Linked DNA regions of Homo sapiens: regions 1, 2, 4, 5, 6 and 7 are each linked to region 3. Evidence: promoter capture Hi-C in 16 types of primary human blood cells and fetal thymus (Javierre and others, 2016). All regions are on one chromosome and are shown on one strand. Each heading gives the region's core, a stretch centred on a gene start or on the middle of the fragment in contact. The rest is flanking DNA. Distances are from core to core; before and after follow the strand shown.

Region 1 (3,995 bases), core at 1,496-3,995, 2.9 Mb before region 3:
ATCTTTCATGACCTTTTATTGAAGATGGGAGCTGTCTTAGTTCATTTTGTGTTGCTATCACAAAATACCATGGACTAGGTAATTTATAATGGACAGAAATTTATTTGGCTCACAGTTATAGAGGCTGAGAAGTTCGAGATCAAGCAGCCACATCTGGTGGGTGCCTTCTTGCTGCATGATCCCATGGCGGAAGGCAGAACAAGAGAGTGTGCATGAGAGAACAAGAGAGCTTGGCTTGCAGCCTCACATCCTTCAATAATCAACATTAATCCATTCATGAAGGTGGAGCCATCATGAGCTAAACACCTCTTATTAGGCCCCACCTCCCAAAACTGTTGCACTAGAGATTAAGTTTTCACACATGAACTTTGGGGGACGTGTTCAAACCATAGCAGAAGCCTACCACAATTAACTGATAAAAGTGTATACTAATTTAGTCTAGCATAAAGAGACAGGCCAGGCGCAGTGGCTCATGCCTGTAATCCCAGCACTTTGGGAGGCCGAGGTGGGTGGATCACCTGAGGTCTGGAGTTTGAGACTAGCCTGGCCAACATGGGGAAACCGTCTTTCCAAAAAATACAGAAATTAGTTGGGCATGATGGGGCATGCCTGTAATCCCAGCTACTCAGGAAGCTGAGACAGGAGACTAGCTTGAACCCAAGAGGCAGAGGTTGCAGTGAGCCAAGATGGTGCCACTGCACTCCAGCCTGGGCAACAGAGCAAGATTCCATCTCAAAAAAAAAAAAAAAGACAGTGGGATACTATTTGTTAAATAATATGATATTGCTCTTTTTGTAGACTCCAAAACGTCAGTTATCAGCAATTTGAGATTTAATCTATTACTTCAGATGATTACAGATTCTCAAAGTGCTTAGTCGCACATTTGTTTTTTGGTTTTTAAAATTCAATGAACATTTAGAGAGTATCACATGCTATTGAACTATACTGAGTTCTAGAGATGTGAAGATAATTAATGTGGTCTTGCTATCAAGGAGGTTATGGTTAGAGGAGGGTAGACATTTAAACAAATATAGTGTTAGAGTTGCTAAAATGGAAGCAAAGAGATGGCTGTCACGCATGCAGAGTCAGGGAGAGCCTAGCAAAGGCTGCATAAGGTGAAAAGGGTCAGTGACTTGAACAAGTGTTTTTTCATACTGTAGGAAGTAGCCCATTAGTAGTTCATCAGACCAGTTTAGGGTGTCATATCTTGTGACAGTTACTATGGGACTGAACGAAGGTGGACGAACGCAGAAATGAAGACAAAGACAAAAGGATCTTTTTAAAGAAGGGGTCGGGAGCTCCTGCTAGTGAGCAAGGGCCCTGAGCTTTTACAGCCTTTTATATTTATTGGGTAGAAAGAGCAGGGAGGAGGAGGTAAAGGTCAGCTGCTTGATTTATCACAGGTTCACGTGATTGCTAACAGGCTTCAAATGTGCCTATAGATAATCGCAAGAAACACTGTGCCTGGGCATGACTGCCCTCAGCATTCCTTCTGGGTGGCAGATGCAGTTTGTCAGTTTGCCAACAACCTGCATTCATGATAACAGTTTGCTGTTTGCTCATATAGCCTCCAGTGGTATACTGAGTTAGTCACAACCCTCATTCTTTTGGCCTCCAACAATAGCATTTATTTTTAGTGGAATAGTGTATCTCTCACACAGCAAGTATATTTAGTGAAACTTTGGTTTTATGTCTGTACTAGTCATGTGAAATGTATTTCTTAGCATAGATTTGTCAAGTCAGTTTGAAAACTACTTTTCAGACAAATGGTAAGAAGATAGCTTGACTTAGCTTAATGCAGTGGAGCTAATGCTCCACCTTTTTTTTTTTTTTTTTCTACTTTGTCAGGTTTTTTTTTTTCCTGTTGTTTGAACTTCTTACTTTTGGTACTAGGGTTTTTTTTTTTTTTCTTTCTTATTTACTTCTACTCTTTAGGGATTTCTACTCCTTTGGTCCCTGGAAAACCAAGGTCCTTTCATTACAAGGCAAGGGTTACAAACTCAGTACCTACAGAACCAGCAGGCTGGGTGGAGACTAGGGCCAGCTGAAGAATTGCCCACTTAAAAGGGCATGTGCTATTCCAAGTTCGAACTCATAGATTCTTTGATGGAGTAGAGGTTTAGTGATCTTACAATGTCTCTTAATATTGGAAATACACATTTTTAAGTGAAATCTCTAGATTTTAAAATATTGGTAGCTAATCCAAAGTTTTTAAATACCATATGGGCCAACCAAAACATATCTGCTAGCTAGATTTGGCCTGAGGGGCTCCAGTTTGCAACCTCTATAAGTGAATCTCAACATTCTTTCATAATAGGTAAAGGTTGTCTCAACTACAGCTATCCAGCCTAAATATGTTTTTGTTTTTTTTTTTTCCTTAAGAATTTCACAGTAGTGAGATGCTGCTTTTGGTATGAGGAAAAGCAAATTTAGAAGCTTCATTGCCCAGGTGCTGGGTCATAATATGATGGTGACTCTGATTTCCTGTGGATCTGTGAAGTTCAGTATTATACTTATTTTCTCCAGTACCCCAGGAATTTCTTCATAGCTGTATGGGGTAAATATTGTCCTAAGATTTGATAAAGCAAAAAAATCTTTTTTTAAAGGGCAAAGTCAATTTCCAAAGTGTGCATCTATGTGCATCTGATATTGTGGAAGAAAGTCCCTAGGACTTGGAGTCAGAGGACCAGGATTTGAGTGTTAACACTGCCATTTACTAGTTACTTTACCTTGAGTAAATTACTGACCCTCTCTGAGTAGGCCTCAGGTTTCTCTTTGTTCCTGTCCTTATTACTTCATCAAGTTAATGTCAGATAGAAAGCACTAAAAATTGCAAGGTACTCTGATAAATGGCTGCTTTCTTTCCCTTGTAATTCCTCCAAAATTGTAAATTTATATATATCAACTTTCTGTGTCAAGATCTTTAGGTGAAGAACAGTTTTCTGTGGGATCTGTCAACTTCATGAAACAGACCAATATCCAGAAAAATACTAATACCAGAGATACAAGTAAAAAAACAAAAGACCAGCTCATCATCGTGAGTAAATTCCAAACAAAGCTTCTCCTATCTAGCCCTTTGCAGAAAAGCTTGCCAACCCCTGTATTAGACAGTTCAGAACTTGGTATTTTCAATGTCATTAAGCAATGTTTTATGTGACAGAATGGGAGTTGTAGGTGGTGACATTGAATATTCTTGAATTTATCTGTGCTTTTCCTGCACTCTATTTTTTGTCAACTCTTGGGTCAAATAATTTTAATATTGTTTAAAATAATTTAATATTCTTAGCTGCTTAAGGAAAAATATTGTATAATTAATATAGAAGTCCTAAAATTTTTGCCCTCCCTGTTTGAAATAAGGCTTTTTCAGGTCTTTAAGGGTTTCATTAAAAAGTTCCGTTGTTCATTTTAGCTGTAATTTCCACAATTTAATCTTATTCTTTCTTAGAACCATGAGTCTAGTAAATAATCTTGTAAAAATAAAAAAATCTTTGGTTTTTACACTGTCCATTCAAATAATTCCCTTTCATCAATTTATTGCATTTTTAGGTCTCTTGTCTCTTTTTTTTCCCCCCCCAAAGAGATGGAGTCTCACCATGTCGCCCAGACTGGTCTCTAACTCCTTGGCTCAAGTGATCCACCCACCTCAGCCTCCCAAAGTGCCGAGATTACAGGCGTGAGCCACTGTGCCTGGCCTGATCTCATTTCATTTTGTCTTGGGGGAGGGAAGGAGGATATGGTAACCAGATTTTCATTTAGTTTTTCACTTGTGTCAGCAGGAAAAAAAAAATTAGGTGAAATTTGAATGAATGGTTATAGGAACTTAATTTAGAGCTATTTGTGCTATATTTAAATGGGTTTCTTTTTTTACCCCCCAATTATAGGACGCTGGTCAGAAACATTTTGGGGCTACTGTGTGCAAGTCTTGTGGTATGATATATACTGCTTCCAACCCTGAAGATGAAATGCAGCATGTACAGCATCACCACAGGTTTCTG
Region 2 (3,978 bases), core at 1,478-3,977, 2.6 Mb before region 3:
CAAGGCTGAGTGACCCCCATGGAACACTAGTATTCTGAGGTGAGGCAGAGACAGAGTTCACAAAAGAAAGAGAAGAGAAACCAAGAGAGTTGGAGGGCCCTGTCATAAAAGATGTTCATGGAAGAGTTGACAAAAAGAGTCAAACTCTGTAAAATACTTGAAGAGATTTATTCTGAGCCATGATTGACCAACTGAGGCAAGACAGGCAAGCTCCAAAATTGGGGCTTTGCCTGGGAGGGTTCTTGGCTTTGCCCAGGAAACAATTCAAGGGTGAGCTGATGGTGTTAAATAGCAACTTGCATTGAAGCAGCAGTGCACAGCTGCAGCAGAGGGACTGCTCCTTGCCGAGCAGGGCTACTCACAGGCAGTGCCCAGAAGAGCAGCTCAGAGGCAGTTCTGCAGTCATATTTATACCCACTTTTAACTGTATTCAAATTAAGGGGCAATTTACGCAGAAATGTCAAGAATGAGGATGGTAACTTCCAGGTCATCAGGTCATTGCCATGGAAAGGGGAGGGTAATGTTCAGGTGTTGCCACGGCAATAGTAAACTGACATGGCATACTGGTGGGCATCTTATGGAAAGTTGCTTCCACCCCTGCCCTGTTTCAGCTAGTCCTCAACTTGATCCAGTGTCCAAACTCTGCCTCCAGAACAGAGTCCCACTTCCTACCTCACATGGTCTGTGACAGAGCCCCAGGGGATCCTGAGAACATGTGTCCAAGGTGGTCAGGTTACAGCTTGATTTTATACATTTTAGGGAGTTATAAGACATTACTACATGTAAGATGTATATTGGTTTGGTCCAGCATGGAGGAAAAGTTAAATATTAAATCTGAATTCAATTGAACCTGGACACAAACAATAGTCACCAAGTCCTGGAACAAGTTTTGTGAGTCCCTTGAGGCTTTCATCCAGCGCTGTTTCAGAGAAATCTCTATTTCAATCTATTCCTATACATTAGTTATTGAAAAACAATAGACAATAGCAAAAACAAGTTGACCTTTTTGTGTTCCTTGAGCCTGGTTGTGAAGGGCCCTTGTGACTGGGCCTCATGCCAAACAACTTGTTACAAAAAGAGCTAGGGTCCCAGGCCCAGCCGAAGCTTCAGGAGACCTATCCTCATCTGTGCAAGGAGGAGTGGCCAACTCTGGAGCCCAGGCTGTTGCTTCCTGGTCTGGTGGTGAATCCTCCATAGTCTGGTGAGTGTAGTGCCCAACTCTGGAGCCCAGGATGTTGCTTCCCGGTCTGGTGGTGAATCCTCCATAGTCTGGTGAGTGTAGTGTCCAAGTCTGGAACCCAGGCTGTTGCTTCTTGGTCTTGTGATAAATCCTCCATAGTCTGATGGGTGGGTGTGTGTGTGTGTGTGTGTGTGTGTGTGTGTGTATACACATATACTTTCCCTTCTACCCTTCCCATTGCAATTTGCTTATTATATCTGCATTGCCATTTACATGGGATAAAGGTCGTTTACCCTTAAAGGTATTGTGTATGTGTCTTTTCTTCTCCCCTCACGCATATCCCACAGAGAACAACCAGAAAGGTGGGACAACTCAAAGCATTGATGTGGGGTCAGGGGGCAACACTTTCAGGTCACAGGCAGATTCAGTTTTCTCTGACTGGCAATTGGTTGAAAGAGTTATTATCTATAGACCTGAAATGAACAGAAAGGAATGTCTGGGTTAAGACACAGAGTTGTGGAGACTAAGGTTTTATCATGCAGAGGAAGCCTCCAGGTAGCAGGCTTCAGAGAGAATAGATTGTAAATGTTTCCTTTTTTTTTTTTTTTTTTTTGAGCCGGAGTCTCACTGTGTCGCCCAGGCTGGAGTGCAGTGGTGCAATCTCGGCTCACTGCAAGCTCTGCCTCCCGGGTTCACGCCATTCTCCTGCCTCAGCCTCCCAAGTAGCTGGGACTACAGGGGCCCACCACCACGCCCGGCTAATTTTTTGTATTTTTAGTGGAGACGGGGTTTCATCATGTTAGCCAGGATGGTCTTGATCTCCTGACCTTGTGATCCGCCCACCTCGGCCTCCCAAAGTGCTGGGATTACAGGCATGAGCCACCGCGCCCGGCCGTAAATGTTTCTTATCAGACTTTAAGAGTCGGTTCTGTGCTCTATCAGCCTTAAGGTCTCTGTGTTGATGTTAACACTGGTTAGCAGCTCCTGAATTCTAAAAAGGAGGAGGGAATAAGGAGGCATGTCCAACCCCACTTCCCATCATGGCCTGAGCTAGTTTTTCAGTTTAACTTTGGAATGCCCTGGGCTGAGAATTATTTTCGGTTTACAGAGGAGAACTTATGTTCATTGGTATAGGATGACAATGAGGTCAGACAAATACCACTGAACTTGGCAGGCTGGGAAGTTACAAAGCTTAGCAAGGCCAGTTTCAGTGTCATAGTGGGGTCAAAGCCTCGTTGTTGCCTCAATTCTAGTAGGGTACATATTCCTGTCTTTATTAATGGGAGAGGTTCTTAATCTCCAGCCCATGGACAAAGGAGATCATAGATGGGTTTCAGGAAAACATCCCAAGTCCTGCCTCCAAATTTTGCAAAATTTTGTGCCTGTGTATTTTTCTGGAGAACGTAAACCAAACAGTGTCTGAGACAGGTCTCAGTCTGGAGGTTTATTCTGCCAAGGTTGAGGACACACCCAGGAAAAAGAGACATAAGTTATCATGGAATCTGTGGCCTGTGGTTTTTCCAAAGAGGGTTTTGAGGACTTCAATATTTAAAGGGAAAGAGCAGACAGAAGGGGAAAGAGGAACAACTATGCATTCATTTCACACTCAGTAAATCTGCCTTTTACAGAAGACAAAGTAAACATAGAGGAAGGAGTCAAATATGCATTTTTCTTGGGGTGGACTGAAGGGTGATTTCTAGTCTTGTCCTTGTCCCCTACCTACTGTAAATTTGCATGGTCAGGGTGGAATTCAACAGAAGTGTTGTAAGGTAAAGACTCTGCCACTCACAAGGAATTTCCCTGTGAGCAACTCCTCTGGGAGGCCACCTAGGGAGATATGTGGGCTTCTGTCTTTGCAGCTGTTTAGGAACAGAAGGAAGGCAGTTTTTGCGTGACTCAGTTCACAAGCTTAACTTTTTGTTGTTGTTGTTGTTGTTGAGACAGGGTCTCGCTCTGTCGTCTAGGCTGGACAACAGAGAATGATCTCCACTCACTGCAACCTCCACTTCCGGGTTCAAGAGATTCTCCTGCCTTAGCCTCCCAAGTAGCTGGGATTACAGGCGTGCACCACCACGCCTGGCTAATTTTTGTATTTTTAGTAGAGACAGGGTTTCACCATGTTGACCAGGGTGGTCTTGAATGCCAGACCTCAGATGATCTGCTGGCCTTGGCCTCCTGAGATGGGCATAGTGCTAGTATTACATGTGTGAGCCACTGCGCCCGGCCCTAAGCTTAACTTTTTTCTTTGGCAGAGTTTAGGGTCCCGAGATGTTATTTTCCTTCCACAAGAGACATCCACAGCTTTCACGATGGTTACCGATCATATGTGCCATTCATCTAAGACCAAGGTGACCACCTGGTCCCAAAGCCTGCACCTCGGATTCTTACTCGATTCCCGCCTGGTCTCTTCCAGGCCCTCAGTTAGTTTCCACAACATGGGAGGGTTCCTCCTCCGTGGTCTCGCCCATTCGCGTTCCCACCCACCCTCCCCGGATGTGACGACCCTGGGCTCCCACTCCCCCCCATGAGAGACCATCCACTTCCACCCTTTCACTTAGGCTTCCTGGCGCAGCCTCTATCCAGGAACTCTGTCCCATAGCTGTACTGCCCAGGTCGAGCTTTCTAACCCCAAGATGCCACTCCGTTCAGACGTTCCCATCCTCCATCCCTGAGACCCGGGGCAGGATCGCAGCCTAGGGGCCTCACGGGCCGCCTGCTACCCTGTTAGTTGCAACACGGGGCGGGGCGTGGCTTTGTGCACGTCGGCTTCCGGGAAGAGCTTTACGATACATTGACCG
Region 3 (4,116 bases), core at 1,265-3,764:
ATAAGAAATAATCAGACTGAATTTCAATTAAGGCGTGAACAATCACTGGACGGTGAATCAAAAACCTGCCTTCTCTCAGTTTCAATTTTTTTTTCTTTTTTTTTGAGACAGAGTCTCGCTCTGCCGCCCAGGCTGGCAGAGTGCAGTGGTGCAATCTCGGCTCAATGCAACCTCCGCCTCCTGGGCTCAAGCGATTCTCCTGGCTCAGCCTCCCGAGTAGCTGGGACTACAGGCGCGCAGCACCACGCCCCGCCAATGTCTGTATTTTTAGTAGAGACGGGGTTCATTCACCATGTTGGCCAAGCTGATCTTGAACTCCTGACCTCAAGTGATCCGCCCACCTCAGCCTCCCAAAGTGCTTAGATTACAGGCGTGAGTCACCGCACCCGGCCTCAGTTTCAATTCCTAAAGCCACCTGGCTAGGCAACCCACAAGGCCTCTACATTCAATTTCATAAGTGAAATGAGGACGCTATGAAAGCTGTCCACATCCAGCCCAATTGTAAGAATGAGAAAATGTGTATGTTATTTTTTAAACAGTAAAGTCATAAAAACGTGTTATTTCAGTATTACTATTTTGAGTTGGATCTGAAAGAAGGGAATGATTTACCGGGCTGAGGAAAGTAGGAGACAGCCTTGGGAGGAGGGAAAGCGTGGGGCCAAGAAGAAGAAAGGAGAATTGTCAAGTGAGAAGGTGGGAGCAAAAAGTAAATTTCTAGAACAGGAAACATTTGTGTCTTATTTCACGTTGCAAAGGCAGGACCTCAATCTGGACTTTAAAAAAATTACTCTAAAAGATTTAAATAGGCCGGGCGCAGCGGCTCACGCCTGTAATCCCAGCACTTTGGGAGGCCGAGGAGGGCGGATCACGAGGTCAGGAGTTCTAGACGAGTCTGGCCAACATGGTGAAACTCCGTCTCCATTAAAAATTTAAAAAATGTGCAGGGTGTCGTTGCGGGTGCCTGTAATCCCAACTACTTGGGAGGCTGAGGCAGGAGAATCGCTTGAACCAGGGACGTGGAGCTTGCAGTAAGCCAAGATCGCGCCACTGCACTCCAGCCCGGGCGACAGTGCGAGACTCCGTCTCAGAAAAAAAAAAAAAAAAAAGTAAATAAAGCCGTACAGTTTACAACAAACTAAATGCTTACAGTATTTGACCCTCGCAACTCTAGGAGCAAACAGGTATTAGTGTTATTCCTATTTTAATACGTGAAATCTGAAGTGAAGCTGTCTGGTTAAGGTCGCACAGATGGAAGAGCCAGGGCCAGGAACCAAACCTCCTGACTCCTAACTCAAGTGCTCCTTACACCAGACCTGGAACGCTGGTAAAGGCCTTTAAAACAAAGGCCACCTGTGAGGTTCGGGAACGTTCAAAGGCATCTAGAGCAGAAAGCTTCGCAATGTCTGTCTTTCACCATCACGTGCTCCGCCTAACTTTTCCTCCTTTTTCAAAGACTACCCAATATGTGTACTAAGTTTTAGATCTCTGGACCCCCCTATGGAGTAAACAGGCTACATCACCATGTCCATTTTACAATTAAACAAAACCACAACTCAAGGAGTTGGCTGGTTCCTCCGTGGGCAGACACGGAAAACCCAAAAATTAAACTGAAATCTGCCTCCAAGCCCACGATTCTTGCCACCATTCGACCTCTTTCAACCTTACTACTTCCCCTCTCTTTCACTTTTACCCAGCCTCGTTAGTGTCCCTGGCACCTCAGGACCCGGCTATGAAAAGCAGGCTGCTTCGCCCTTAAATGACGGAAGTGGGGAGGTGGGCGAAAAGGGGGCCGCAGCGTTGTTTAGACTGCAGAAATCAACTACTATCGTTAAAGTTTAGGGATCATCACAAACCAAATCTCCAAAAGGTAGCCTAGAAAGCAGTCCGCGTATGAGCATCATTTTAAATCACAGTCTTGAGCTGGCTGGACCCCGCGGCTGCTCAAACTCCACACACGGTTCGCTTGGCTACCGCGCCCGTGAACTTGGAGGCTTGGAAGAGGCACAGTCAGGCGGCAGACCGCGAATTTTCCCTCTTTCCAACCCAAAAGTTTGCTCAATGAACCTCTGGCCTAAAGACAATGCTCCGGGGAACGGTTCGCGTGCTGGGTGTTTCGCTTCGAGAACGGCGGTCCCAGCTTCCCGTGAGGTGGAGGTCACGCTCAGCCTCCCGGGAGGCGGCGGCGCGCCTGCGTCCCAGGGAACAGCAAGCCGGGGCTCTGCGCCCCACACCCGGCGGCCGCAGCCCCTACCTGAGTGAGAAGGGCAGCCTCGCACGACTCGCCGCCCCCTTCCTGCGCCTCCGCCTCGGCCGGCCGCCCACGCCGGCACTGCACCCTCTTCCTGCTTCTCGTCAGCGCCCCCGCCTGCCCGCACGCACGCCCAGCGCTGACCCGCCAGGTCGGGGTCTCACCACTGGCGGTGGCGGCGGCGGCGGCGGCAGCGGCGGTAGCTGAGGCGGCGACTGGACCCGGGACTCCGCCCGCCACTTCCCGATCGGGTGCTAGGAGCTCAGTCCCGGCAGCCACCGCGGCGCCAGGGCAGCCAAGCGAGCGCATGCGTCATTGCGTGCCCCGCCTCTGGTGCCGCGGGAGCGGAACTATCCCGCTCTGGCGTCCTGGGGCCTCCATGACAACGAGGGAAGGGCTGGGGTGGGGCCGAGAAGGGGACTGAAGTGGGAGGCGGCGCCACTGAAGATGGAAGGCAGCTTTCTTTATAGACACTTTATTAAAACTGCTACAGCCTGCTCCGGCGTGCGCTGGGATGTGGTGAACCCAGCCGACGACGCTATCTTTCAATGGTTACTTTGTGTTTTTTGTCTTTTTCTTATTAGAGACGTGATCTCACTCGGTCACCCAGGCTGGAGGGCAGTGGCGCGATCTCGGCTCACTGCAACCTCCGCTCCTGGGCTCAAGCCATTCTCCCACCTCAGCCTCCGGAGTAGCTGGGATCACAGGCGAGTGCCACCACGACGGACTATTTTTGGTTATTATTGTTGTTGTTGTTTGTATTAATAGGGTCTCACAATGTTGCCCAGGCTGGTCTCGAACTCCTGAATTCAAGCGATTTGCCCGCCTCGTCTTCCCAAAGTGCTGGGATTACAGGCGTGAGCCACCGCGCCCGGCCTCAACGGTTATTTTGTGAGTTTACCCCAGCGCCACACACCAGCACCTGCACACCGAGAACGCGGTTCCAGCTCTTTTACAAGCGAAGAACAGAGGGCCAGGAAGCTAATTAATAAATGACTTGCTCAAGACAACACAGCTAGCAAAGGCAGCCTGATGTGGAGCACAGCCCAGCCTCTTCCCTCCACCCCTGTGAACTGTCTTAGAAAAGGATTTTGGATTTAGAAGCCAGATAAATGGGTGGAAATAAAGCAGTGGAAAAAATAATTTCATTGCCCGAAACCTGCAGCGTGGCAGGCCTTCCCTCACTCTTATAACCTAAAGCGGCAGTACAGCCAGTGCTCAGCCATTCTGTGGCTGTCGTTGAATTACTGGTTACTCTTCAAGTTACTGAAACTGTGGCTCAGTTTTCTCATCGGGGAAATGGGGATAATCATTGTACTACTACAATGAGTTACTTGCATTGGACTGTGGTGAAAATTAAGTGAGAAAATACCTAAAATTTTATTCAAAACTTGGAAAAAAGTCAAAAGATAATATTTTGTGACTTTTATTAGTTTCATTCTAGAGAATTTTGTAATAAGCCTACTTGATCATCTGACACCCACAGGAAATGTAACTTTGTTTGAATAACAATTGATTAGGGCCCAGAAGATTTACAAAAGGATGAAATCAAACATCAATTGGTAGGAAACTGATGAGGTGTTAGGGGAAAAAGGGGCAGGGAATTCAGTGTGTATATAGATAGATAGATAGATAGATAGATAGATAGATAGATAGATAGATAGATAAAATTCCAAAGGTTAAGGTTGCATTTTTCTGAGAAAAATTAACCGGTTTTGTATCAACTGAGCAGTTTTATTTCAGCATTCCTTTCCCCAACGATTATATAAATATCATTTTTCAGAACTGGTAGAAATCCGTTTTATGATTCTGCTGGCTCCCTTATTAATGAGTGAGAGACTTATACATATGGACAATGGCTAAACCGC
Region 4 (4,165 bases), core at 855-3,354, 2.8 Mb after region 3:
CTGGCCTCAAACTCCCAACCTCAAGTGATCCGCCTGCCTTGGCACTCAAAGTGCTGGGATTACAGGTGTGAGCCACTACACCCGGCCCATGAGAGCCTTTAATAATGGATAATGAACATAAGTAAAAAGGGAAAGTTACGAAGTATATAAAATGTGATTTCACAGAGTATGTCAAAAAAAGTCTGGAAAAATATTTACAGAATAGTAATGAAATTTTATCTCTGGGTAATGGAGTTATGATTATTGCTCATCTGTATTTAGCTTTTCTATAAGAATCTGCTGGGCTTTTTTGTTTTGTTTTGTTTTGTTTTGAGACGGAGTTTCACTCTTGTTGTCCAGGCTGGAGCGCAATGGCACAATCTCGGCTCACCGCAACCTCCCTCTCCTGGGTTCAAGCGATTCTCCTGCCCCAGCCTCCCGAGTAGCTAGGATTACAGGCATGCGCCACCATGCCCAGCTAATTTTGTATTTTTAATATAAACAGGGTTTCTCCATGTTAATCAGGCTGGTCTCAAACTCCTCACCTCAGGTGATCCGCCCAACTCAGCCTCCCAAAGTGCTGGGATTACAGGCGTGAGCCACCGTGCCCGGCCTTGCTGTTTGTATTTTAAAAAGTAAACAAGTCAGGCTATTTTACAAAACATTTCTTCCTCTCATTCCTGTCCTTGGGCATTGCCTTCTTGAATTAATATAGTATCTCTTGGGGCAGAGGATTTGAAATGGGCTTTTACTTTGTCTTGCAGGTTATCTGGGATACACTAGGAAACAAGCAATTTTGTTCCTTCAAAATAAGGTGAGTCTCAATTTACAACTTGGTCAAAGATTCCTTCAGTTGCCTCTTTGGCAACCCATTTTATAATCTTTGTTTCTTTTCTCCCATTCTAGAACCAAGACTCAGAGCTTCTGCCGAAATGAATATAGCCTGACTGGACTGTGTAATCGGTCATCCTGTCCCCTGGCAAATAGTCAGTATGCCACTATTAAAGAAGAGAAAGGTAACTCCCCAGTTTTAACTTCTAGAAGAACTGCTCCACAGCTTTTACAGGGATGTTCTTTAGTTTCTGTAAATAACACTAAAGCTATTTTACTTTATCTTCAGGACAGTGCTACTTGTATATGAAGGTTATAGAACGAGCGGCTTTTCCTCGGCGTCTCTGGGAACGGGTAAGCCTTACAACAAAACTACAGTGACCGCTGATCAAGAGCATCAAAGCCACATGCTTGACCATGATGCCCAATTCCATGACCATTAACTTTTGAGGCCATCCTCATTAGGCCATGGGTGTCACTGACAGTGAAAACCTAATGAATCATTTACACTTGCCCTTCAAACTTCCTGTTTCTGTTTGGTAGGTCCGGCTTAGTAAAAACTATGAGAAAGCACTGGAGCAAATAGATGAAAATCTGATTTACTGGCCCCGTTTCATTCGACACAAATGTAAGCAGAGATTCACCAAGATCACCCAATACCTAATTCGAATTAGAAAACTTACACTAAAGCGACAGTAAGTATTTGGATCATTCATTATTTTTAAATCTCTCTTTTTATGGAGCTTGTTTTGAAGTTGAGAAATTGTGAAACTTCGGGGCTTTCTATTCAACTTTGTGGAGTCTGTTATGATGTACTAAAGAGAAACTTTAGCTTTGACTAAAGGTGTGCCCTTTGATATGGCAGGACTTTTAAAACAGTAGAATACAACTTGATTATCACCCTCCTTGTCTGAAAATCTTTCAGAAAATTTTATTTTCTTTTTTGTTAAGACGGAGTCTCACTCTGTCGCCCAGGCTGGAATTTGCAGTGGCGCGACCTCAGCTCACTGCAACCTCCATCTCCCCGGTTGAAGCAATCCTCCCACCTCAGCCTCCTGAGCAGCTAGGATTACAGGCATGGACCACCATGCCTGGTTAATTTTTTTTGTATTTTTAGTAGAGATGGGGTTTCACCATGTTGGCCAGGCTGGTCTAGAATTCCTGACCTCAAGCGATCCGCCTTAGCCTCCCAAAGTGCTGGGATTACAGGCATGAGCCACCATGCCCAGCCTTCAGAAAATTTCCTCTATGACCCCCGAGGGAATCTTAACTTTAGAGATTTGAAAATGATCTAAGACATGTGACTATACAGGAATGTAAGAACTTTACTCTGGATTCACTGAAAACTAATTTTTAAAAGTGATATGAAATCCCCAGAATTAACAGAATACCTTCTCTAGGACTGTTAGGCCCTAATGCTTTTTGACTGTGATCTACATAGAATGCTAAAGATGATGTCAGACTTCGACAGAAAATTCTTTTTTCTTAGTTCACTGAAGTCTTAATTTTAGCATGGTGAATGCCCTGAGAATCCCAGAATGCCTGAACAAAAATGGCCGGATTAAAATACATGTAAAAATATATGACTTTTTATAGTATTAAATTTCTAGAAGCGTTTAGTGTATCTTGCTGTATTGAGCTGAGCCCTACAGCACCAACCTTGGGCTCCAAGGCTTGTTTGAATCGCTAGCCTCCGTGAATGCCTGAAGCTCAGCCATCCTGCCCTGCACATGAGTAGACTTCCATTTTAGTCACCAATTCCAATCCTTTTTTCTTCTCATCCTTAAAAAGGAACACAGCACATGACAGTGGATTTTCTGATATATTTTCTTTCCCTTAGGAGGAAACTTGTTCCTTTGAGTAAGAAGGTGGAGCGTAGGGAGAAAAGAAGAGAGGTAACTTATTGTTGAGATATTCATACCTTCTACATTTTCTTTCTGGGGGTCTCTTATAGATTCAGTCACCATCATTATGTAAACTGTTGAGGCCTTGGATAATGGTTCACTAATAGATAACTATTAGTTGCCTAAGACATTTAATTTTTCATATTTTAAGATTATGATTTTCAGCACAGGTTAAAGTATGTGTGCTTTGGGGATATATGTAATGGAGAACAGAAAGAATCCACAACTCCTTTTTCTGAATTTCTTGTGGTCAAATATTTCAGACTTCAGAATTTTGATGTTGCATATTTTACATACTACATAAAACCTTTAGTAGATTTTGAGCATTCTAATCAAATGGAATTTCTGCAGTGAAATACAATACAGGCATGCAGTGAGTAATAACATCATGGAAAATTGGGTATCCGTCCCCTCAAGCATTTATCCTTTGTGTTACAAACAGTTCAATTATCCTTACAGTTATTTTAAAATGTACAATTAAATAATTGACTATAGTCACGCTGTTGTGCTGCTAGCAAATACTAGGTCTTATTTCATTCTTCCTATTTTTTTTAGCGGGGGTACCCATTAATCATCCCCACCCCCATTACCCTTCCCAGCCTCTGGTAACCATCCTTCTACTCTGTATATCCATGAGTTCAATTGTTTTGATTTTTTGATCCCACAAATAAGTGAAAATGTGCAGTGTTTGCCTTTCTGTGCCTGGCTTCTTTCACTTAACATAATGACCTCCGGTTCCATCCATGTTGTTACAAATGACAGAATCTCATTCTTTTTAATGGCTGGATAGTACTCTATTGTGTATAAGTACCATATTTTCTTTATCCATTCATCTATTGATGGACACTTAGGTTGCTTCCAAATTTTGGCTGTCGTGAACAGAGCTGTAACACACATGGAGTGTGGGTATCCCTTTGATACACTAATTTCCTTTTGGGTCTGTACCCAGAAGTGGGACTGCTAGATGGTATGGTAGCTCTAGTTTTAGTTTTTTGAGGAAGCTCCAAACTGTTCTCCATAGTGGTTGTACTAATTTACATTCCCACCACCAGTGCACAAGGGTTCCCTTTCTCCACATCCTCTCTAGCATTTGTTATTGCCTGTCTTTTAAAAGATAAAAGCCATTTTAACTGGGGTGAGATATTTCATTGTTTTGATTTGCATTTCTCTGATGATCAATGATGTTGAACACCTTTTCATATGCCTGTTTGCCATTTGTATGTCTTCTTTTGAAAAATGTCTACTCAAATCTTTTGCCTCCCCAATCCCTGCCCCCTGCTTTTTTTTTTTTTTTTTTTTTTTTGAGACAAGGTCTCACTCTATTGTCCAGGCTGGAGTGCAGTGGTGCGATCTTGGCTCACTGCAACCTCTGCTTCCTGGATTCAAGTGATTCTCATGCCTCAGCCTCCCAAGTAGCTGGGACTACAGGTGCATGCCACCATGCCTGGCTA
Region 5 (3,727 bases), core at 270-2,769, 2.9 Mb before region 3:
GACAGAGTGGGAAACTGTCTCAAATAAATAAATAAATAAATAAATTGTGAATGATTCATATGTGATGATTTAAAATGTACCCAAGAAAGTATGGTCTATATAATTTGAATGGGGTATTTACCATCCAGAAAAGGAAAAGCAAAAGGAAGACACATCTTGGGTAAAGGCACTCATAACAGTCGTAGACACTATGAGTTTTCTGAAAGGCTTTCTAATGCTTTAAGTAGGACTGAGCAAATAGCCAAAAGGTAAGCAAAAAAAGGAAAGAGAAATTTAAAAAATCTCTTTCCCTCAGTCAGGCAAAGTTTGGCTCCCTGATGACACCTGCTGGCTGATAAAAAGAACAGACCTGAAAGCTTTTCAGTGAAAGTAAATCATTCCACTTAAATTGATGTTTCTATCGAGTTCTTGGTCTGAAGTCATAAACACTATTAGAAATAAATGTAATGGGCTAGGAATGCCAGACAATGGGGTGATTTAGAGAAGTAATGTCCGTTCTTACAAGGCAACCTAGGAAAAGTTGATACCTCCAAATGACTCTAAGAGTTCCCAGGGAAAAAGTGTTCCATACATACATACATTCACTTACTTCAGACAACAGATTCTCGCTGTCTCTTAAGCTGGAATGCAGTGGCATGATCACAGCTCACTGCAGCCTACCTCCCAGGCTCAAGCGATCTTCCTGCCTCAGCCTCCAGAGTAGCAAGGACAACAGGTGTGTGTCACTATGCCCAGCTAATATTTTCTTTTATTGTTGTTTTTTGTAGAGACAGGGTCTCCCTATGTTGCTCAGGCAGGTCTCGAACTCCTGGGCTCAAGTGATCCTCTCGCCTCAGCCTGTCAAAGTGTTGGGATTACAGGCGTGAACCACCATGCCTGGCCTCTTACGTTTTTTTCTACAAAGGTTTTTAATGACAGCAAAATGCCACTCCAGAGGGCTCTAAAAATATCATCTAAATTTATATCTGTGACATAAATTATGTATCTAGATTTGTATCTATATATTCCTACAATAGACATTCAAAGGATTCCACAATCTAGTCCATCCTAACCCACTCCTCCACAAAGCCTTCTCAGCTTTCAATCACATTTACTATCTCTGATCTGTCTACTTCGACAGCATTTACTATTCATGTTACTTCATTTTGTCTATACTTTTTAAAAAATAGACCTTAGTACTTTTTCATGATAATAAAGTTGTGACATTAACTTTGGGTGTGATTTAATGGTGAAGCAGTCTGCAGCATATTAACACTTGAGTTTTACATTTCTCCTACTAACCCATAAATCATCACAAGTAACATTGATAGTTAAAGCATTTTTCTTATGTAGCTTAGGAGGTGCTGCTGTCTCCCTATGTGAGCTTGTTCTGTTTCTCAAAAGCTAGTTTATCAAAGTAGGTGAAAACTCAGAACCAACAAACTGGGTGGGGGGCATGGAAGGTGGTGAGTGAGAGATAACACTTACCTGCTGAAAATTTCAAAATCAAATGCTTTTGAAAACTTACTTTCATATTTATCTTTTCCCATGTAAATAGTGTAGGCAGATGAATTAACTAAGATAAAACAAAAATAAAAAACAATTAGTAACTTCATCACCAACAAAATTGTTTCATGTGAAAAACAAGTGACAATTCTTAGACTAGGGGCTGGCAAACCATGGCCCATGATCCAAATCCAGCCTACCACCTGTTTTTGGACAGCCCTTGAGCTAAGAATGGTTTTTACGTTTTTAAAGGGTTGGAAAAAAAGCAAAACAAAGAAGAATAAGCCACGGAGATTGTAGGTGACTCACAAAGCCTAAAATATTTACTATCTGGCCCCAAAAGAGAAAGTTTACCATCCTTACTAATAGCTACTTTCCTACTTTCTCAGGGTTACAGTTCAATGGTATCGCCAGTCCAGTCCTATACTTTTGCCTTCTTTAAGAGTTAAAAAAAAAAGAAAAGAAAAGAAAACTAAACACCACAACTAAGTTCCCATGTTTACCAAAGTTTTATTGTGCATAATTGTTTTTAGCCAATATTACCCATATTCCAGGTGTGCTGCATATTCTAACAGGCTCTCTATCACATTCAGGGAGACCATGACTCTCCAACTTCTAAACCAGTGACTCTGACCCCTGATCTACATTAGAATCATCTAATTATGCCCCAGCTCCACCTCAGATCAACTCAATCCAAATCTCTGGTGGGCAAGAGTGAGCATCTGTGTTTTCTAAAAGCCTTCCAAGTGATTCTAATATAAGGTCAGGGTTAGAAACAACTATCCTAACTCAAATGGAATCTTCTGGGTATGGTTTATCCTAGAAATGATATTTGCTTTACCAAGGTGGTGTTTTATTGCAGACGTCCCTACCTTGGATTCCTACTGAAAGGATAACTGAGTGCCAGGTTTCAAAGCTAGTTTACCAAAACTTGTTTGATCCAATTGGACTAAACTCCTGAATTCATAGACACTGGGCCCTCAGGCTACAAAGCCTGTGATGGAGAAGTACTGAAAAATAAATACACACTGAAGCAAAGTACTGATAAGTGCAGGGTTGGGCTGAACAGCCTGCTGGCTATCACTCCACAGCACAGAACACACACATGTACCTGGAGCCCTGAAGGACAAAGGGCAATACGCTCTCCTAAATTAAAAAGCCTTATATCAGAGAGATGCCCTGTACTTTCAGTAATGAGAAGCTTCTTAAATGATCAATCCTAGTTGCCTTTCTCGGGGGAGAGAAAACTAATTCCTTTGTTTAACATTTATAATAACTGAAGTCCAGAAGTAGTTGAGAAAAGTACCTTGAAAGAATGTGTGCATCGCCAAGTTTATAGAAATGCTTGTCTATTATTGAGCATTGTAGTACCTTGATCAGGCCTTAGTGTAGCGTGTAACAAATGCCAAAAGGGTGGGAATAAAACTAAAAAGCATTTCAGATTTTCTCTGCATGGCCTGGCAATAGTTCAAGTGTATACCCTTTCAATCCTATAACGTCACTACCTATAATGTTACCATAATAGAGTACCAAAATACTCCACCAAGCAATAATCTTTTTACAACCTAAACATCCCTTAATAGAGACTCTTTAAATATATTACAGATTTGAACATCCATAAACAAAATACCATGTACCCATTAAAAAGAAACGGCAGGTGAAGAAATTAAATATCCGAACAGTATTTTTGTGTATCTATATGATTCAATTTATAAAAAATAAATGATTATAATGGTATGTGTGTGTATATACATACACATACATGTTTTATTTTTATATAAGCACATACTTCATATGTATGGAAGCATAAACATTTTTTAACAACAGTTACCTTGGTTAGCCTGCTATAAAACATACAGATGGCTTTTGTAATTAGAACAGAATTTTCAAAATAACAATATAGGCCAGGTGCAGTGGCTCACACCTGTAATCCCAGCACTTCAGGAGGCCGCGGTGGGCAGATCACTTGAGGCCAGAAGTTTGAGACCAGCCCGGCCAACATGTTGAAACCCCATCTCTACTAAAAATACAAAAATTAGCCAGGTGTGGTGGCACACGCCAGTGGTTCCAGCTACTGGAGAGGCTCAGGCATGAGGATTGCTTGAACCTGGGAGGCAGAGGTTGCAGCGAGCCAAGATCATGCCACTGCACTCCAGCCTGAGTGACAGCAAGACTGTCTCAAAAAAGAAAAAATAATAACTGATATAAAATATTAATAAAGTTGTCTCTGCAGGCCAAGCTG
Region 6 (3,661 bases), core at 59-2,558, 2.9 Mb after region 3:
CCTCTGTATCTTCCTCTATGTATCACCTTGGGCAGATCCTGAACAGTCTGAGCATGAAATTCCTCATTTATAAAGTGGGTCAATACCTATACTAAGGATTAAGCGAGCTAAATGTTTTTTCAAATGCTGACCACAATGCCTGGCCTATGGAAAGCCCTTGGTAAAGAGTGGCTAAAGGCCGGGCACGGTGGCTCATGCCTGTAATCCCAGCACTTTGGGAGGCTGAGGCAGGCAGATGGCTTGAACTCAGGAGTTTGAGACCACCTTGGGTGACATGGTGAAACCTCATCGCTACAAAAAATATAAAAATTATCCACAAAAAATTAAAAAATTAGTTGGGCATGGTGGCACACACCTGTACTCGGGAGACTGAGTTGGGAGGATGGCTTGGGCCCGGGAGGTGGAGGTTGCAGTGGGCCGAGATCTTACAACTGCACTCCAGCCTGGGCAACAGAGCAAGACCCTGTCTCAAAAAAAAAAAAAAAAAAAAAAAAAGAAAACCTAAGGTCACACCTATTATTGGTTGATTTACGAAATGAACTCTGGTCACCCACTTCCTAGCCTAGAGTAGTTTTCTCTAAGTCATTTTTGTAGAGATGGAGTTTTGTTCCCAAGGCTGGTTTCAAACTCTTGGACTCAAGCGACTCTCCTGCCTTGACCTCCCAAAGTGCTACAATTACAGGCAAGGGCCATGGTGCCCGGCCTAGATGGTCTCTTGAAGCCCTTTGCCGCTTGGCATGTGTATGCTTCTGTGTGTGTGTGGTGGGCAGGGGGAGCAGGGAGGAAAGGGACCAAGGAGAGTTGGTTTTACAAACCCCTCTCAGCCTCATCATAAAGAAATCTTTGGTATTTGGTGTATCTTCATCCCTGTCTCCAGGATTTAAGTGTGAATTGCTTAACACGGGTGTGCGGGAGTGGGCAGGTTGGTGGTCAGGAAGAATTCAAGGAAAAAAACAGGCTTCAGGAAAGGGGAGGAGACAGGAAGAGAGGAGAGATACCAGAAATCTACCCTCATCTCCGCTTAATGGTTAGATGCAATCTTCAGACCCAACTGTACAAGAGGGAAGATAAACCAGTATCTCCTCTGCATAGATTTTTATGTGGAAAATTCTAGTTTCAGGGACCTGTGTGAAAAGTTCTGAGAAAGAACAGGTCCAAGGTAGCACCTGGGAGTGGTGGGGAGATGTGCCTGAGGGCACTTCCCCTTCTTAGAGGGAGCTCTTCCAGCCTTGGAGAAGATGGACTAGTACCTGCCTCTCTTGTAGCTGCCTTCTAGCAAAGCACTCAAACCCAGAAGGGCATCTTAGGAATAAAGCCAGCAAAGCCTTTTCCTTAATCTTAATTTAATCTTCTTAAATTATTTGATCAGTCACCAGCCCAGACCACAGCTGATGTCTACCCAAGCATTTGGTAATGTGTGGGTGGCGGGGGAGACAGCTAATGGCCACAATGGCCCTAAAGACTACTAGTATGCCCTATTGGCCAGGGATGTTCAATATTCTCCAATGTACAGAACAGTCCCATACAATGAGGAATTGTCAATGCCAACAGTAAACCCCAGTCAGAAACACTACTACTTTGATTCCCATTCTAAATACCAGTCATGCTCAAAATTTTTTATAGAAAACAGCCACCAGAGGCCGAGCACGAGGGCTCATGCCTGTAATCCCAGCACTTTGGGAGGCCGAGGGGGGTGGATGACTTGAGGTCAGGAGTTCGAGACCTGCCTGGCCAATGTGGCAAAACCCCGTCTCTACTAAAAATACAAAAATAAAAATTAGCTAGGCATGCACCCATAATTCCAGCTATTAGGGAGGCTGAGGCAGGACAATCGCTTTAACCTAGGAGGCAGGGGTTGCAGTGAGCCAAGGCTGTGCCACTGCACTCCAGCCTGGGTGATGAAGTGAGACACCGTCTCAAAAAAAAAAAAAAGAAAGAAAGAAAAAGTAAAAAGAAAACAGCCACCAGTCCCCATGTCCTTCAACAAGAGATAAGAGAAAGCGTTCCTGGAGTGTGGCGAGCCCTGCCAAACTCCAGGTCTTCTCTTGGATCCCTAAGCAATCAAGAATAAATGACAGTTTTTTAGGTTTGTTTTGGTTTTTTCCACTCTCAAAAATAAGAGCTTATAAGGCGGAATAAACAAGTAGCTCCGCCCGGGTGTGGTGACTCATGCCTGCAATCCTAGCATTTTGGGAAGCTGAGGTGGGTGGATCACTTGAGCTCAGGAGTTCGAGACCATCCTGGTCAACATGGTGAAACCCCATCTCTACTAAAAATACAAAAACTAGCCAGGCGTGGTGGCGTGCGCCTATAATCCCAGCTACTTGGGAGACTGAGGCAGGAGAATTGCTTGAACCCAGGAGGTGGAAGTTGCAGTAAGCTGAGATTGCACTCCAGCCTGAGCATCTCAAAAAAACAAAACAAAACAAAAACCAAGTAGCTCTCTAGACACCGGCTTGCTTCCTAATATTAGTATCTGGAGGGCTGACAACAGGTCCCAGGAGGGCAAAGGAACATGACGCTGGCATAACTGATGCCCACCTGTTCCCGACCACCCAAAGGGCATGAGTAGGAATAGAGACAGACAGACAAGGAAGGGACCACTAACTTTATTACTCAGTCACACAGTAATTCTAGGCAACCTTAGAATAATTGGCGAGGAGGTGGGATGCAGCCCAACCCGTGGTGACCTTATATGCTCAGGAACAACTTGATAGGCTAATGTAAATAGAAACACCAGATCCTCAGGGGCCTAGAGAAGGGCAGGCTCAGCCGTGTCCTCAAAGTGGTGGCTCCAGTATAAGACTGGTGACTCTGCTGTGGGACCCTCGCTCAGCTTACCCCACAACCCTGGTCTCCTCCCTCCTGCTGGACTCCCACCCCGGTCAGCCAGGGATCCACGCACCTGATAAAATAGCAGCAGAAGATAAGGCTGAGCATGAAGACAAAGATGCCTGTGCCGAAGATGACCATATAGATGTTGAGCGGAAGGTCCTGGAAACTGATGGGTGGCATCGAGCAGGACTTGTTGGTGCTAACCAGTCCCAGGCCACAGAAACACCCTGCAAAGGGAGAGAAAAAAAAATCATTAGGGTTGGAAATTTACTGCTGGGCTGATAGCACTGTGTCAGCAGGATAGAAATAACTGGCAGGCTCTGGGCACCTAAGCCTCAGATTCAGTGGCTCCAGTTTTATATCCTAGTTCTAACATTTACTAGCTATGTAATCTTGAGTAAATCTGATCTACAAAATTGAATACTATCCAAAATACTTAAAACAATATCCCCATCTAAGGGACAATAAATTCAGGCAAGCTGGGTGTGGTGGCTCATGCCTGTAATCCCAGTACTTTGGAGAGGCTGAGGCAGGTGATCTCGAGGCCAAGAGTTCAAGAACAGCCTGGCCAACATAAGACCCCATCTCTAAAAAAAAATAGAAAAATTAGCTAGGCATGGTAGCGCATGTACTACCATGTAGTCCCAGCTACTCAGGAAGCTGAGGTGGGAGGATCACTTGAGCCCAGGAGTACAAGGCTGCAATGAGCGGTGATTACACCACTGCACACCAGCCTGGGTGACAGCGTGAGACCCAATCTCTATTTTTAAAAATTAAAAAAAAAAAAGAATTTAGGCAATGGGCAGAAACTGGAGAGCTTAATTCC
Region 7 (3,920 bases), core at 925-3,424, 2.0 Mb before region 3:
AACCAGCTCTTAGTTTTGTTGATTTTTTCTATTGATTTTCTGTTTTCAGTTTCTTTGATTTTTAGCCTAATTTTTATTTGTTTTCTTCTGTTTACTTTGTGGGGTTTTTTGCTTTTTTTTTTTTTTTTTTTTGGATAGGGTCTCACTCTGCCACCCAGACTGGAGTGCAGTGGCACAATCTCAACTCACTGCAACCACTGCCTCCCAGGTTCAAACAATTCTCTTTCTTCAGCCTCCTGAGTAGCTGGATATACAGGCACGTGCCACCATGCCCAGCTAATTTTTGTATATTTTGAATAGATGGGATTTTACCATGTTGCTCAGGCTGATCTCGAACTCTTGGGCTCAAGCGATCCACCCGCCTCGGCCTCCCAAAGTGCTGGGATTACAGGTGTGAGGACCCCAGTTCTTCTGTTTACTTTGTATTTATTTTGCTGTTTTTAAATTTTCCTGAGGTGGAAGCTTAGGTTGCTGGTTTTGGATATTTCTTCTCTTCTCATATCTCCATTCAATGCTATAAATTTTTCTCTCTGCATTGCTTTCACTGCACCTACAAATTTTGATAAATGATATTTTCATTTTCATTTAGTTCAAAATGTTTAACAATTTTTCTTGAGACTTCTTCCATGTATTATTTAGAATTATGTTTTTCATTTCCAACTTTTAAGTGTGGGGTACATGTGCAGGATATGCATGTTTGTTACATAGGTAAATGTGTGCCATGGTGGTTTGCTGCAAAGATAATCCCAGCATCCATTAGCTGTTCTTCCTGATCCTCTCCCTCCTCCCACCAGGTATAAAGCCCAGCATCCATTAGCTGTTCTTCCTGATCCTCTCCCTCCTCCCACCCCCGCCCTCCAAATTATGTTGTTTAATCTCCAAATATTTGAGAATTTTCCAGCTATTTTTCTGCTATTGATTTCTAGTTAAATTCCATTGTGGTCTGAGAGCATATTTTGAATGAGTTCCTTTCTTTTACGTTTCTTAAGATGTATTTTATTCAGAATGTGGTCTACCTTTGTCAGTGCTCCATGTGTGCTTGAGAAGAATTTGTAATTTGCTGTTGCTGGATAAAGTATTCTGTAGATGTCAATTATATTCAGCTGATTGATGGTGCTGTTGAATTCAGCTGTATCTTTACTGATTTTCTGCCTGCTGAATCTGTCTACTTCTGACAGAGGAGTGTTGAAGTCTCCAATAATAATAGTGAATTCATCTATTTCTTCTCTGCAGGTCTATCAGTTTTTGCCTCATCTATTTTGATGCTGTTGTTAGGCACATACATATTGAGTATTTTGATGTCTTCCTGGAGAATTGACCCGTTTGTCGTTATGTAATGTTCTGCTGTATCTCTGATAATTTTCCTTTCTCAAAAGTCTACTTTGAAATTAATATAGCTACTCCAGTTTTCTTTTTTCTTTTTTTGAGATGGAGCCTTGCTCTGTCACCCAGGCTGGAGTGCAGTGGCTTGATCTCAGCTCCCTGCAACCTCCACCTCCTGGGTTCAAGAAATTCTTCTGCCTCAGCCTCCCAAGTAGTTGGGATTACAGGCATGCACCACCATGCCAAGCTAACTTTTGTATTTTTTTTTTTAATAGAGACGAGGTTTTACCATGTTGGCCAGGCTGGTCTCAAACTCCTAACCTCAAGTGATCTGCTTGCCTGGGCCTCCCAAAGTGCTGGGATTACAGGCTTTAGCCACCATGTCCGGCCTGCAGCTTTCTTTTGATTGGTGTTAGCATAGTATGTCTTTCTCCAGCTCTTGGATTTTATTACATTAAATCTATCAGTAGGCCAGGCACAGTGGCTCACACCTGTAATCTCGGCAGTTTGGGAGGCTGTGGCAGGCGGGTCACTTGAGGCCAGGAGTTTGAGACCAACTTGGGCAATATAGGGAGATGCTGACTATCTTTTAAAAAAAGAAAAAAGATATCACTGGTGAAATTATTATTGTGAAAAATGTAATGAAGTATTCTTGCAAAGGGCAGTACAGTAAGCTACTTTCAGTCATTTATACTTTAGTTTGAATTAGTATATAAGAGACTTTCAATAAACAGGTAAAGAATACTTTTCGGTGGAGGGAAATGGGGGAGGGGGTGAGGAATTAAGAGTCAGTAACTGAAGGAGGGAGATGGAAGCCCCACAAACAAAAAGAGAGGCAGTCAGACATAAAAGCCAAAACGTTCCAGGCACAGTGGCTCACGCCTGTAATCCCAGCACTTTGGGAGGCTGAGGCGGGTGGATCATGAGGTCAGGAGATCGAGACCATCCTGGCTAACAGGGTGAAACCCCGCCTCTACTAAAAAAGTATAAAAAATTAGCAGGGCGTGGTGGCGGGCGCCTGCAGTCCCAGCTACTTGGGAGGCTGAGGCAGGAGAATGGCGTGAACCTGGGAGGTGGAGCTTGCAGTGAGCCGAGATCATGCCACTGCACTCCAGCCTGGGCGACAGAGCGAGACTCCGTCTCAAAAAAAAAAAAAAGCCAAAATGTGTGCTCTTCAAGATTCTTGCCCAGGGCTGATACCGCCTGAATGCTTAAGAGTTTTCCTCTCTAAGTGAATTCAGTTAACAGGTGTGCGCTGAGTATAGATTTGGGTGTGGAGAGTGAACCAGGAGTGCATCAGGGTTCCCAGGAAACAGCTGGTGACACAGCACCTGGAGACTCCTCTTCATCTGCCTTGGAACGCATTGCCTCGGAACCAGCTGTGGACACTGAAGGGAAGACAAAACGGACTTCCAGGCTTATTCTCAATGTTCCTCTTTGCTTCCTTCTTACGGTCACGTCTTTTGCAATCTCAAACCCTTTTCACAAAGGCTGCATCAAGGAAACACAGTATGCCTACTAATACCCAACTCCAGGAATCCCACTTCCTGTTAAGAGTGTCTTAGTCTTGAGAGGATTTGTCCTGGCAGGACTTGCTTTTTAGCCAAGCCAAGTATGTGGTGTGTCTGTGGGATGATTTGAGGAGTGTCTGCAAGATTGCCCTGTCCTACTCATGCCAAAAATTTCACCATGAATGAGTCATACCTGTTGCTACCAACACCCCGTTCCGAGAAGGCAAGGACACAGAAAGAAGATGGGGCAGCTTCCTTCCTCATTTTTCATGGGGATGGCCCGTGACTAGGGTCTACAGTGGAAATAAGATCTTATGTGGAGGAGAAAACATATGTGAAGTGTAAGCTAATGTTCATAGCAACATTATTCACGATAGCCAAAATGTGGGAACAATCCAAGTGTTCATCAAATGAATAAACAAAAAGGAATGTATATGTACAATATACACTGTACAATAGTACCATATATATGTACTATTCAGCCATAAAAAGAAATGAAGATCAGGCCAGGCATGGTGGCTCACACCTGTAATCCCAGTACTTTGAGAGGCCAAGGTGGGTGGATTGCTGGTGGAGCCCAGGGCTTCAACACCAGCCTGGGCAACATGGCAAAACCCTGTCTCTACAAAAAACACAAAAATCAGCCAGGTGTGATGGCACATGCCTGTAGTCCCAGCTACTTGGGAGGCTCAGGTGGGAGAATCACTTAAGCCCAGGAAAATGGAGACTGCAGTGAGATAGTGCCACTGCGCTCCAGACTGGGTGACAGAGCAAGACACTGTCCTCAAAACCAAAACCAAAATCAACAACAATAAAAAAAACAAGAAATGAAATTCTGATACATGCTACAACACGGATGAACTTTGAAAATACTATACTGAAAGAAGCCAGACACAAATGGGCAAATATTGCACGATTCCATTTATATGAAATATCTAGAACATGGAAATTCATAGAGACAGAAAGCAGATTTGAGCTCACTGGGGTCTAAGGGGAGAGGGGAGTGGAAATTATTGCTTTAATAGATACGGAGTTTATCTTATGGGTGATGACAAGCTTTGGAAATAGTGTTGATGGTTGCCTAAC

The links. The method cuts DNA at HindIII sites, captures the fragments that hold promoters and counts their contacts. A CHiCAGO score of 5 or more calls a contact.
Region 1: a contact is called between a fragment that was not itself captured here and the fragment with the promoter of GTF2E2 in region 3, in 1 of 17 cell types (activated CD4 T cells). The highest score is 5.4, in activated CD4 T cells.
Region 2: a fragment that was not itself captured here is called in contact with the fragment with the promoter of GTF2E2 in region 3 in 1 of 17 cell types (fetal thymus); the score reaches 5.5 in fetal thymus.
Region 4: a fragment that was not itself captured here is called in contact with the fragment with the promoter of GTF2E2 in region 3 in 1 of 17 cell types (monocytes); the score reaches 6.4 in monocytes.
Region 5: a fragment that was not itself captured here is called in contact with the fragment with the promoter of GTF2E2 in region 3 in 1 of 17 cell types (activated CD4 T cells); the score reaches 5.4 in activated CD4 T cells.
Region 6: a fragment that was not itself captured here is called in contact with the fragment with the promoter of GTF2E2 in region 3 in 1 of 17 cell types (non-activated CD4 T cells); the score reaches 5.4 in non-activated CD4 T cells.
Region 7: a fragment that was not itself captured here is called in contact with the fragment with the promoter of GTF2E2 in region 3 in 1 of 17 cell types (neutrophils); the score reaches 8.2 in neutrophils.

The regions. Positions count from the first base shown.
Region 1 is chr8:27,784,966-27,788,960 of GRCh38, forward strand. It overlaps ESCO2 (establishment of sister chromatid cohesion N-acetyltransferase 2), which reads left to right. Exons shown (of 11, transcript NM_001017420.3): 6 at 2,920-3,037; 7 at 3,882-3,995. Among named protein-coding and RNA genes, the nearest start is that of ESCO2, 12 kb to the left of the region's middle. The HindIII fragment of the contact is 622 bases long and covers 2,435-3,056 here.
Region 2 is chr8:28,089,132-28,093,109 of GRCh38, forward strand. It overlaps a transcript of ELP3 not described here. Among named protein-coding and RNA genes, the nearest start is that of ELP3, 2.0 kb to the right of the region's middle. RefSeq lists enhancers at 3,589-3,978, 3,634-3,683. The HindIII fragment of the contact is 717 bases long and covers 2,370-3,086 here.
Region 3 is chr8:30,655,722-30,659,837 of GRCh38, forward strand. GTF2E2 (general transcription factor IIE subunit 2) reads right to left here and starts at 2,515. Exons shown (of 8, transcript NM_002095.6): 1 at 2,252-2,515. RefSeq lists enhancers at 1,044-1,715, 2,387-3,058 and silencers at 2,100-2,189, 2,200-2,609. The HindIII fragment of the contact is 11,766 bases long and covers 1,391-4,116 here.
Region 4 is chr8:33,487,635-33,491,799 of GRCh38, forward strand. MAK16 (MAK16 homolog) reads left to right here. Exons shown (of 10, transcript NM_032509.4): 2 at 744-793; 3 at 886-995; 4 at 1,100-1,164; 5 at 1,354-1,505; 6 at 2,651-2,705. Among named protein-coding and RNA genes, the nearest start is that of MAK16, 4.5 kb to the left of the region's middle. The HindIII fragment of the contact is 5,323 bases long and covers 1-4,165 here.
Region 5 is chr8:27,763,697-27,767,423 of GRCh38, forward strand. CCDC25 (coiled-coil domain containing 25) reads right to left here. Exons shown (of 9, transcript NM_018246.3): 2 at 1,508-1,555. Among named protein-coding and RNA genes, the nearest start is that of CCDC25, 7.1 kb to the right of the region's middle. The HindIII fragment of the contact is 2,330 bases long and covers 355-2,684 here.
Region 6 is chr8:33,555,710-33,559,370 of GRCh38, forward strand. RNF122 (ring finger protein 122) reads right to left here. Exons shown (of 6, transcript NM_024787.3): 2 at 2,906-3,062. Among named protein-coding and RNA genes, the nearest start is that of RNF122, 9.6 kb to the right of the region's middle. The HindIII fragment of the contact is 4,905 bases long and covers 1-3,661 here.
Region 7 is chr8:28,614,161-28,618,080 of GRCh38, forward strand. It overlaps a transcript of EXTL3 not described here. Among named protein-coding and RNA genes, the nearest start is that of EXTL3-AS1, 85 kb to the right of the region's middle. The HindIII fragment of the contact is 3,428 bases long and covers 461-3,888 here.